Regions from separate parts of the Homo sapiens genome. Here regions 2 and 3 are each linked to region 1. The links are contacts of gene promoters, found by promoter capture Hi-C in human tissues and cell types (Jung and others, 2019). All regions are on one chromosome and are shown on one strand. The core of a region is centred on a gene start or on the middle of the fragment in contact, and the rest is flanking DNA. Distances in the headings are between cores, read along the strand shown.

The links. Contacts are between HindIII fragments. The study calls those that stand out against the background at their distance.
Region 2: a contact is called between a fragment that was not itself captured here and the fragment with the promoter of ANO1 in region 1, in 2 of the 25 tissues and cell types used here (IMR-90 fibroblasts and stomach).
Region 3: a contact is called between a fragment that was not itself captured here and the fragment with the promoter of ANO1 in region 1, in 2 of the 25 tissues and cell types used here (bladder and stomach).

What each region holds. Positions count from the first base shown.
Region 1 is chr11:70,076,610-70,080,066 of GRCh38, forward strand. ANO1 (anoctamin 1) reads left to right here and starts at 1,708. Exons shown (of 26, transcript NM_018043.7): 1 at 1,708-2,105. The coding sequence starts at 1,998. The HindIII fragment of the contact is 18,532 bases long and covers 1-3,457 here.
Region 2 is chr11:69,985,353-69,988,809 of GRCh38, forward strand. It overlaps a transcript of ANO1 not described here. Among named protein-coding and RNA genes, the nearest start is that of LINC02753, 78 kb to the right of the region's middle. RefSeq lists an enhancer at 731-1,548. The HindIII fragment of the contact is 3,913 bases long and covers 1-3,457 here.
Region 3 is chr11:70,001,863-70,005,319 of GRCh38, forward strand. It overlaps a transcript of ANO1 not described here. Among named protein-coding and RNA genes, the nearest start is that of LINC02753, 62 kb to the right of the region's middle. The HindIII fragment of the contact is 3,461 bases long and covers 39-3,457 here.

The DNA.
Region 1 (3,457 bases), core at 458-2,957:
TGGACACTTGAACTTTTAAGGAGCAGAGGCTGTGGAGCACTGTTCCTGGCATGGATTTGGCCAGCCTGGGGCACTTCTCCAAACCCTCTCTCGCTGTCCAAGGTGCAGACAAAGGGTCCTTTAGGGCCACTCAGTGCCCGTTGGCACCACCAGCCTGAGAACCAAATAGCCTTCCTGCACCGCCCCAAGTTCAAGGAAGTCACAGACTTGTGCCTAAATGGGAGAGTCTCACTGAGGCACCAGGAAAGGGTAGGTCATGACAAGATGACATTAGTAGTGACAACAGTCACCATTGCTAAGCCTGGCAGCTTCAGGCACGCTTAAAACTCCCATGAGAAGGCAGAGGCTCTGAGGCCCAGGAGGCTCTGAGGCCAAGGAGGCTGGCACAAGGTCACAAGGCTGGAAGGTGCCAGAGCTGGAGCTAGACCCCACCCCTTCTCTCCAACCCTATCCTAGCTGACTCCAGGTTCCATGCTTGGAACCATGGCACGCTGACGACATCGTGGCCTTTAAAGACAATTTTCTAATCACTTCTGTAGGCCTTGAATGTTCCCCAGTGGCCATTTAACAAGCAATTATTGAGCATCGGCTGTGTGAACCTGGTAGACAACCCACTGTAAAATGAGACGGAATAAATGAAGTGCTAGTTGGGGTTCAGGCAGGTTCTTTGGATAGACAGGAAGGCCTGCATATTTGGGTGGGAAGGGGACAGTAGGGGAGAATCCAGCAGGACTTCCTGCAGGAGGTGCTATCTGATGCACACCGTGAAGAACTCATAGGATGTGAGAGGCAGAGGGACACTTTATTTCCACTGGATGTGGTGGCCAGCATGGCCCCTGGGGCTTAACCTGAGTATGGTCGTCCCCTGGGGACCTGCCTTATTCTCCTTAGGGGAAGAAGACTTGAAGATCTGCAGTGTGCCAGACCCCTGCTAGGTCCGGGGGTAAGAGAGATCAAAGCCACCATCCCCCCCGCTCCGCCCCTCCAGAAAGCAGGACAGCCTTGCCCAGCAGTGGGGAAAGCTCTGCAGGAGCCCCGCCCCACCTCAGAGGATGCGGACTGGTCCTTGGCCCTCCTAAGCCTGAGTGTCCTCTGCAAAATGAGGACCCGCATTCCAACCTTGCAGGTGCGGGGTTAAATGAGATGATACACACTCACGCCCTACATCAGGGACGCTGCACGCACCTGGGCACAGAACACTAAGCACTCCGTAAACTCGGGGGCACCGGTAACATCAGTGGGCTCCAGGGAGATGACTGCCCCGGGAGAGACTCCCCCAGGAGCGCGGGCAGCTGGAGGGGGCGGGTCGGCAGGAACCAGGCAAGCTCCCCGGAGGAGGTGAGTGCTGAGTGACAGCAGGAGTTTGCCAGGGTGGAGGGAAAGGGGCAGAGATCCAGACTCCAATCTCAGAAGCTTCACTCCCCCCGGAGGCGGAGGTGACGCGCCACAGAAGCGCCTGCCACTCGGGGACTTTATTTCAGGTGGGGCTATTGAAAGTTCCCCCCTTTCACACCCGGTATGAAAACCCTCAAAAATCCAAAGGGGCACTTTCCCTGGATAAAAATAAAACTTGGAGGGGCCCGCAGGAATGGAATACTTTTTCTTCCTGTGTTTAAATTTCTACGGAAAATCTGACCGGCGCGGCCACCGCCCCTGCCATAGGCGGGCGGAGAGCGCTTATATCTTTAAGGCAAAGGCGGGCCGGCTGGCGTCCAAGTTCCTGACCAGGCGCGGGCCGGCCCGCGGGACCAGCAGCCGGGTGGCGGCGCGATCGGCCCCGAGAGGCTCAGGCGCCCCCCGCATCGAGCGCGCGGGCCGGGCGGGCCAGGGCGGCGGGCGGAGCGGGAGGCGGCCACGTCCCCGGCGGGCCTGGGCGCGGGGAGGCCCGGCCCCCTGCGAGCGCGCCGCGAACGCTGCGGTCTCCGCCCGCAGAGGCCGCCGGGGCCGTGGATGGGGAGGGCGCGCCGCCCGGCGGTCCCAGCGCACAGGCGGCCACGATGAGGGTCAACGAGAAGTACTCGACGCTCCCGGCCGAGGACCGCAGCGTCCACATCATCAACATCTGCGCCATCGAGGACATCGGCTACCTGCCGTCCGAGGGCACGGTGAGTGCGGGCGGCCGCGACCCGGGCGGGAGGGCCGCGCACCTGCGCCTTGGCGAGGGCGGGAACCGGGCGGCGGCAGGGCCTCCTGGGACCCCAGGGCGGGGGCCGCACCCTCCGCGCAGGGTTCGCGGCGCCCACCCGCGCACGTGCGTGCCGGGAAGGGCGCGCCGGCCCTGGCCAAGTGCGTGCGCCCCGCCTGCGCTCTGAGCGTTCCGAGCGCGGCGCCCACTCCGCCCAGCGCAGCGCCGGGCCCCCAGGCATGGCCCGGCCTCGGAGCTCTGCGGCCCCGAAGCCGCCTCACCCGGGGCTGCAGCTCGGAGCCCAACCAAGAGCTCACGGCTGGCGCCCTGGATGGGACCTTCCCTTCCTGGCTCGCGGCCAGGGGTACCTGTTGGGGCAGCCAGGGTGAGGGTGATGGTGGGGGTCTTGGGTGAAGGCCAAGTTGGTCGCCACTCCACGATGATGGTAACTGCCAGGCCCCACTGCTTCACTATCCTCTGGGGCCAGAGTCCCGAGTCCTCACTTGCCAGAAACGCATATTGTGCCCAGGGCACTGGGCCTGGTACCCTGGCATTGGCACCGAAACTCTCAAAGCCCAGGGTGTCAATCATTGGAGATTGCTTTCTACCCTCGCCCCTGTCTCCCCTGGGCGCCCAGGCCTGGTTCAGGTGGGGGCACTGGTTGGAAGCCAGTCATGTAAGTTGGGGACCCCATCCTGAGGTCCCCAATATCCCCACCACCCTCCCCAGGGCCAGACCCAGAGGTCTAGGTAACCCTATGTTTTAGAGAGGGGGGCAGAATTCTCCCAGGAAGGGTTTGGCTTGAAGGACAAAGTTTGCCGGAAGAGGATAGGACAGGGCTGGGACTGGCTATCTCCTCTTGGGGTGAGGGAAGCTCTCAGCAGCAATTTGTGGGACCTAAGGACAGAAGCTCCCTTCTACCTTCTTCCCATGCAGACCCCATCAAAGCCCCTCCCCAGGCGTCAGGCCCAGCAGGGCTGCTTCAAGCAGGATGAGGATGGCCCTGGCCTGTCCCTCTAGTCTCTGGAGCTCACAGAGAGGCAGGGAATGAAGCGGGAGCAAAGCTCCTGCTTTGAGTCTCTGTTCCAGCGACAGCAGGGACTCTGGCCTTGGTCAGGCCTTGCACCCCTTGGGTCACAGTGGAGGGGGGTGGCCTGGGGGCATCTCTTCAGGAAATGAGATTGCACAGAGCTGCCAGGAGCACTGGGAACAGGTGTAGATGGAGAGGGAGTCTACCTGTGACTCACAGGACTGGCCGGAGGAGCTCAGGGATTGCCATTTGATCAAAGCCATGTGCCAGGCCATGCTGGCCCCTGGGCACCCTCAAAGAAT
Region 2 (3,457 bases), core at 358-2,857, 91 kb before region 1:
TGGGCAGAGGCGAATTTCTGGATTCAAGTTCAGGACCCCAGTGACCTGTAACCTCCAGCTCTCCTTTCCATCCCTGGGCTTCAGCCTCCTCGTGTGACAAATTGACAGTGATTCGTCGGGGTCCTGCCGCCTGGGGGAGGGGGCCAGGGCGCTCTTCTGATGCGGGAACCAGGGCCACTCACGGAACCGCCCCGCGCCCAGGGCTGCGCCCGTCTCTCGGGGGCTGGCTCAAGGCCCCCTCCTGTAGTCAACACCCCTTCCCTGGGGCCCTGGCTGGGGGTGCACCTCGCAGGGCCGCTCGGGGCCCCACTGCCCGCCCCAACTGATAAGACGGTCTGGGAGCGGTGGAGACGCGCCCCGCGCAGCGGGAGGCCGGGGGCGGGCCGGGACCTGGGGACCAGCCGCTGCTCCTCTGCAGCGTCCCGCGCCGCTCGCTGGGAGTCCGGGGAGCGCGGGGCGGGGCGAGGGCGGTGTCCGCAGGTAACCCCCGGGGGGTGGGGAGGTCTGCCCGGGACCCCCAGACCAAAAAGCCGAGGGGGAGGAGCGGCGCGGCCGTGAGCGAGGGCAGCCAAGTTTGGCTACAGCACGCGCGGCTTCGCTCCTGCCTCTGGGGAGGAGAGAGGGGACAGTCCCCTCCCGAGCTAGGCTCGGACCTTGGCCCCCAGAGCCGCCGCAGACCTCCAGGGGTGACTTCGTCGCTCCCTAGTCTGGACTCGCTAGGTCCCGGGTGCACCGGAGTCGCGCAGCGAACGCGCCATGCAGGAGGGCGACATCGGCCTGGAGGGGCTGCCCCCCAGGGAAGTCCCCACAGTCGGTGAGTATCCAGGGCGGCACGGGGGGTGAGGGACCGCGAGCGCGGCCGCAGTGGATCTGGGACGCCCCAGGGGCAGTGGCTTGCGGAGGACTCAGGGGCGCACGAGGAGCAGGAGGCAGGGACCCCCACCTCTGGTGGCGGGGACAGTCCTCCCCCCTCCGCGCTGCTCCCGGTGAAGGCGAGAGGGGAGGGACTGTGTCGGTCACAGGTCGCTGGGGCACTGACAGACAAACAGACGACAGACAGAGCCCCGGGGCTGGGCTGGGGCTGGGGGCGCCGCCGGGCAGGGGCCCCTGCGCGGCCCCTGGGGAGACATCTGCTAGGCCGGCCCAGGCTGTTCCCAATCCCGGGGGAGCGTCTTGCAGCGGATACGAGGTTTTCGGATGTTTTTACAGGCGCTATTAATACACATAATATTTCCGTGCTATTCTGGAGATTTATTTGTGATATAAAGTCACTACTATGACTCGAAATCATAATGGAAACTGAGAGGAACTTAGAGAGCCGGAGACAAATGAGGCCTGGACGCTAGGCCGGAGGGGGAGTCCCTGACTTCCTCCCCCCTGGCTGCACATAAATCACCACCCAGGATATTTTTGTACCAATAATTTTAAAATAAATGACCCAAGCCCTGTTTCCTGGATGATTCTCCCCTCCCAGTTCAGAGGTTATTAAATAAACCTAAGAGTGGGATAGTGACAAGGGGGCCGCAGTGTGCAGTGGGTTTTATTTAATTACACGCTGAGCTCTGCCCTTCTGAAGCCCTGGTTAGGAGGCAGTGCCCTGCAATCAGGATGCCACCGCCAACCCGGGACTGCTAACTATAGCATGGGAAGCCCTCCTTTTATTCTTCCCCCCTCCCTCCCCCGACTTTTCTTCTTTTCGAATTCCCATGGAGAAACTTATTCTGATGCGTGCCTTTCAAACAGCCGGGTCTGGCTTCTTTCTAGAAGTGACACTGTATACTCATCAAATTAAAGGCCCAGAAGAAAGAGAAAGGGGCCCCTCCAGCCAGAGCAGGCAAAAAACCTGGGCGCTGAAGTGGGCCACCAGGGCCTACTCTTGTGCGGCCAGGCTGTCCTGCCTTCCTGAGCGGCTTCCTCAAGCTCACGTGTAGAAATGATCCGTTCTGTGATCCACTGGAAACACAGCCCCAGCTCACTGTGTATGACCAGCCCACCAAGCTTCAGGCACTGATTCAAATGCTTCACACATTTATCCTCAGTGCTACCCTGTAAAGGGGTGTATAATCCTCCCCATTGTGCAGACAAAGAAACTGAGGCCACACAGCCAGTAACTGATGGCACCAAGATTAGAACGGAGGCCTGTTGTCCCGGGGCTACCTGAGGGGCTGAGGCAGGAGGATCGCTTGAGCCCGCAGTGTGCCTAGATCTTGCCACTGCACTCCAGCCTGGGTAACAGAGCAAGACCATGTCTCAAAAAAAAAAAAAAAAAAAAAAAAAAAAAAAAGACTAGAACCCAGGGTGTCTGAGTCCAGTTGCTGTGAGGCCACTGCCTCTCCCTTTCCCCACCCCAGGCAGAATCACCCAGCAATGCTTCTAGGACATCTTGAGGAAACCGTTCCCTGTGCATGAGGGTGTACTCTGGAGGCCTGTGCTTTGGTCTTTATAGGCTTTACATTTGGGCATGGGTCATGTCTCAGATGTGAGGACCTGGAGTGTTCCTTACTGGAGGATTCAGCTCATCAGATCTGAGCTGTAATCATGGATGGATGACGGCCACAGCCTCCACTCCCGGAGAGCAGGCCTTTCCTGTCCACCCCGCTGCACCTCGGCTGTGTGTGGGGTGGAATCGTGCCCCCTGCTGTGGGTAGCAGCCGTGTCAGGAGTAAGACCCCAGGACGGGTGTCCCAGCCTCGGTTCTTGGGTTTGCTGCCAGATGCACCATTCCACCGCAGTAGGCATGAAGAAATTCCATGGGAAGCCTCACAGCACCACGCCACTTTCGCTCTGTCCATGTCATTTACACCTGGAGGCCGTCAGTGGCTTCGCCCGTAAATAGGAAATTTAAAAAGCCACAGAGTTGGAGAACAGAAAGAGGTCTGGGTTCCCACTTTTTCCTGCCACCGGCACCCAGACCCAGAGAGAGGAAGCACTTATCTTGTGAAGTACAGAGAGCCCCAATTCTAGAGCCAGCCTCCCAGGTCTCAATCCCAGCTTTGCCGCCTGCAGCCCTGTGCCCTCGGCCAACTTACTTAACCACTCTATGCCTTATCTGTAAAGTCCGGAGGGTGGCTGTGAAAAGGACTTGAGTTCATAGCCTTTCCAAAGTGCCTGGCTCTGTTCTGTGCATGAGTGAGGATTATCATCATTGTCATCAATGTCATCACTGCAAGCTTCATCCATATGACCCAGGTGTGAAGTCACACCGAGTGCTCTGTGACTGATCCTATAACCTGCTCATTCTCGCTCCCCTGCAAAACCACAAGCCCACTCTCCCAGGGAGCAATTGATTGGTACAGATGCCCCCTCCCATTCTGCCTACTTAGCAGCTCCTTAGTTATTCTTTAATAAGCTACTTATTTATACGCTTGTGGTCTGAACCTCCCACAAGGGCAGGTGGAGTTAGGGTGAGGTCTGCGGCATCCCTCCACTGGGACATGTCTGCCCAACTCACTCCTGC
Region 3 (3,457 bases), core at 519-3,018, 75 kb before region 1:
AATCTCAGCTCGCTGCAACCTCTGCTTCTCGAGTTCAAGCAAGTCTCCTGCCTCAGCCTCTCCAGTAGCTCGGATTACAGGTGCCCACCACCACACCATTTTGGAAGGAGTGTTTAAATTACAGCCATGTGCTGTAATGATGTTTTGGTCAATGACGAACCACATACAGAGCAACGGTGGTCCCAAACCGTCCCATAAGATTGGATGGCCTCAATCTGTGCTATTACAATCTTAGGTGGTCCCGTAAGATTGTAATACCATATTTTTAATGTACCTTTTCTATGTGTAGATATAAAAATACTTACCAGCTGAGCGCAGTGGCTCACACCTATAATCCCAGCACTTTGGGAGACCAAGGCAGGTGGATCATGAGGTCAGGATCCCAAACCTGCCCAATATGGGACCAGCCTGCCCAATATGGTGAAACCCCATCTCTACTAAAAATACAAAAATTAGCCAGGCATGGTGGCATGTGCCTGTAGTCCCAGCTACTCAGGAGGCTGAGGCAGGAGAATTGCTTGAACCCGAGAGGCAGAGGTTGCAGTGAGCCGAGATAGAGCCATTGCACTCCAGCCTGGGCAACAAAGCGAGACTCCACCAAAAAAAAAAAAAAAACACCAAAAAAACACTTACGATTATGTTGCCTACAGTATTCAGTGCAGTAACATGCTGTGAAGGTTTGTAGCCTAGGAGCAATGGGCCACGCCATACAGCCTAGCTGTGCGGTGGCTACGTCATCTCAGTTTGTGTAAGAACACTCTATGTTCACACTATGATGAAAACACCTAATGACACATTTCTCAGAGTCCCTGTGGTTAAGTGGTGCATGACTGCATTTTCTAATTCAGTTAGAAGATATAGGTCAGGAAACAGCTTTAAAGAAGTCATGGGTGCCGTCGAGCACTTCCTCTGTTGGAAACGGCCAACAACCATTGAGGGTAAAGCAAACTCTGGTTCCTGTCTGATTCTATACCCCTAATACCCCAAAGTGAGTTCCAGGCAAAGTAAAGATCTGAGTGCAAAAAACAAAATCATTAAGTATAAAAATAAAATTATAAATATTCTAGAAGAAAATAAGATGGACACTTACATTATCTTCAGGAAGGATTTTCTGAGCACAATACTAAACCCAAAAACTGTCGAGGAAAAATTTTTAACTTCCACAGATTAGAAAAAAAGAAACAACACCGTAAACAAAATAGAAAGAAAAATATCAAGCTGGGGGTAACTATTTGCTGAGTATCCAATAAAGAATTGTTTTTATCACTCTAAAATACACATATTTACAGACCAATTTAAAATGAAAGACCAACACACCAATGGGAAAATCGGCATGACCACAATAGGCAACTTACCACCAAAATGGCTAACTATTTAGAAAAGACAGCTTTACTCATAATCAGAGAAATCCACATTATAGGATCTGAGATGCTCATCAAACAGGCAAAATCGGTCAATATTACAATGGTTCAGCCTGTGGAAAACAAGCTGTCTCCTGACTCTGATATGGTCCCACTGGTCTCAGGACAGCTTGGCAGCATGTCGTCACCAATTCTCCCACAGACTTACTGTGTACCTCCTGTATGCAGGGCATTCTTGTATGGAAAGTGTTCCCTTCCACAGCCCTCTTCAGGCTGCAGGAAGCTTACTCTGTGCTGGGAGGGCATATCACCCTTTATGTCCAGTGCTTAGCACAGAGCTGGGGCTTAATAAATTGTTGGTGGATGGATGGGTGGATGGATGGATGGATGGATGGATGGATGGATGGATGGATGGATGGATGGATAAATGGGTAGATGAATGGAATGGGTGGATGGATAGGTAATTGTATTGATGGAGAGGATGGAGTAAATAAAACAGATGTTTACCACTTGATCAAATCACTCCAATCCTAGAAACATATCCTACAGAATTGATTGAGCAGGTGGATAAAGACTGTTTCACATAGAACAGTGAAAAAGAAATGACCCTAAGTAGGGACTGGATGGCTACCTGTGGACACCCCACAGGGAATAGTGTGAGGCTGCTATATCCTGGCCCTCAGCTCCTGCCATGTTCTCCCAGCCTCCACGTGCCAACCATACAGCCTCTCCCCACTTCTGGAAGAATCCAGGCACACTGTCCCGTCCAGACCACCCACGAGCTCCTCCTTCAGCCTGAGGCACTTTTCCTCCTGCTCCGACCCTTTGGACCTCCCTCATAACCTCTTCCCAGTCCCCAGGAGCCCACCAGGGGCTCCTTCAGCGGCCCCCAAAGCCCCAGGTCCTCACACAGTGGTCTCACCACCCTGCACCCCACCTGACTTTGTCTTCACAAGGGCAGCGCTGTGTTCCCATCTTGTTGGCTGGATGTTTTTCAAGCATCTGGTCTGTGCTAGACGTGAGCTTTAGAGTAGTGAGATGTAGTCCAGAACACAGTTACATGAGAGAGAGTGTGTGCAAAAAGAACAGGTTACAAAAAGATACAGCTATTAGAAATTACAATGGCTAATATTTGCTGTGTGTGACCACACGCCGGATGCTTATATGTGCACTTTTACAGGGACCATCTCATGACTAGTCATTGTGCCCTTCGAGGGAGGTACTGCTCCTTCCCCAATTTAAGGTGAGGCAACCTCTCACATGGTTGTGATGTGGTGGAGCCAGTGCTCAAATCCACACAGTGGGAACACAGGGTTCCAGGCCACTGTCAGATGGGGGCTATGAGAATAAAGCGTGTCGCGACGTTACGCAGCATCTCCTGGCTCTCAGAGCTTGCAGCCACAGGCTTCTCCATCACACTGCCCTCAAAAAATATCGTGGAGCAATGGAGATATCTTTTGTGTGGCTGCCCTGCTTTCTTCTAGACTTGGCAAATAAGCTTTCAGTGCTACTGGGAGAGATTTAACACAGTGGGCACAAGTGAGGTTGATTTACACTAGCGCACCTTTGAACAGTCCTTGACTTGGGGAATTAGAATTGGTGACAGAGGCCGGGCGCTGTGGCTCACACCTGTAATCCCAACACTTTGGGAGTCCCAGGTGGGTGGATCACCTGAGGTCAGGAGTTCGAGACCAGCCTGGCCAACATTGCAAAACCCCGTCTCTACTAAAACTACAAAAATTAGCCAGGTGTGGTTGCAGGTGCTTGAAATCCCAGCTACTCAGGAGGCTGAGGCAGGAGAATTGCTAGAACCTGGGAGGCGCAGGCTGCAGTGAGCCGAGATCGTGCCACTGCACTCCAGCCTGGGTGACAGAGCGAGATTCCAACTCAAAAAAAAAAAAAAAATTGGTGACAGAAACATTCTTATCATGGGTGCATTACAAATGTCACCACTGGCTACTGAACATCTCTTTAGTCTTTAGAACTTTATTATGTGTTTATGTTCTCATTTACTCCACCCAAATCCCCTCACAGATTGATATCATTTTCATTATTTTACAAGTGAAGAAGCTGGGGTTCAGAGAGGTGAAGTAACA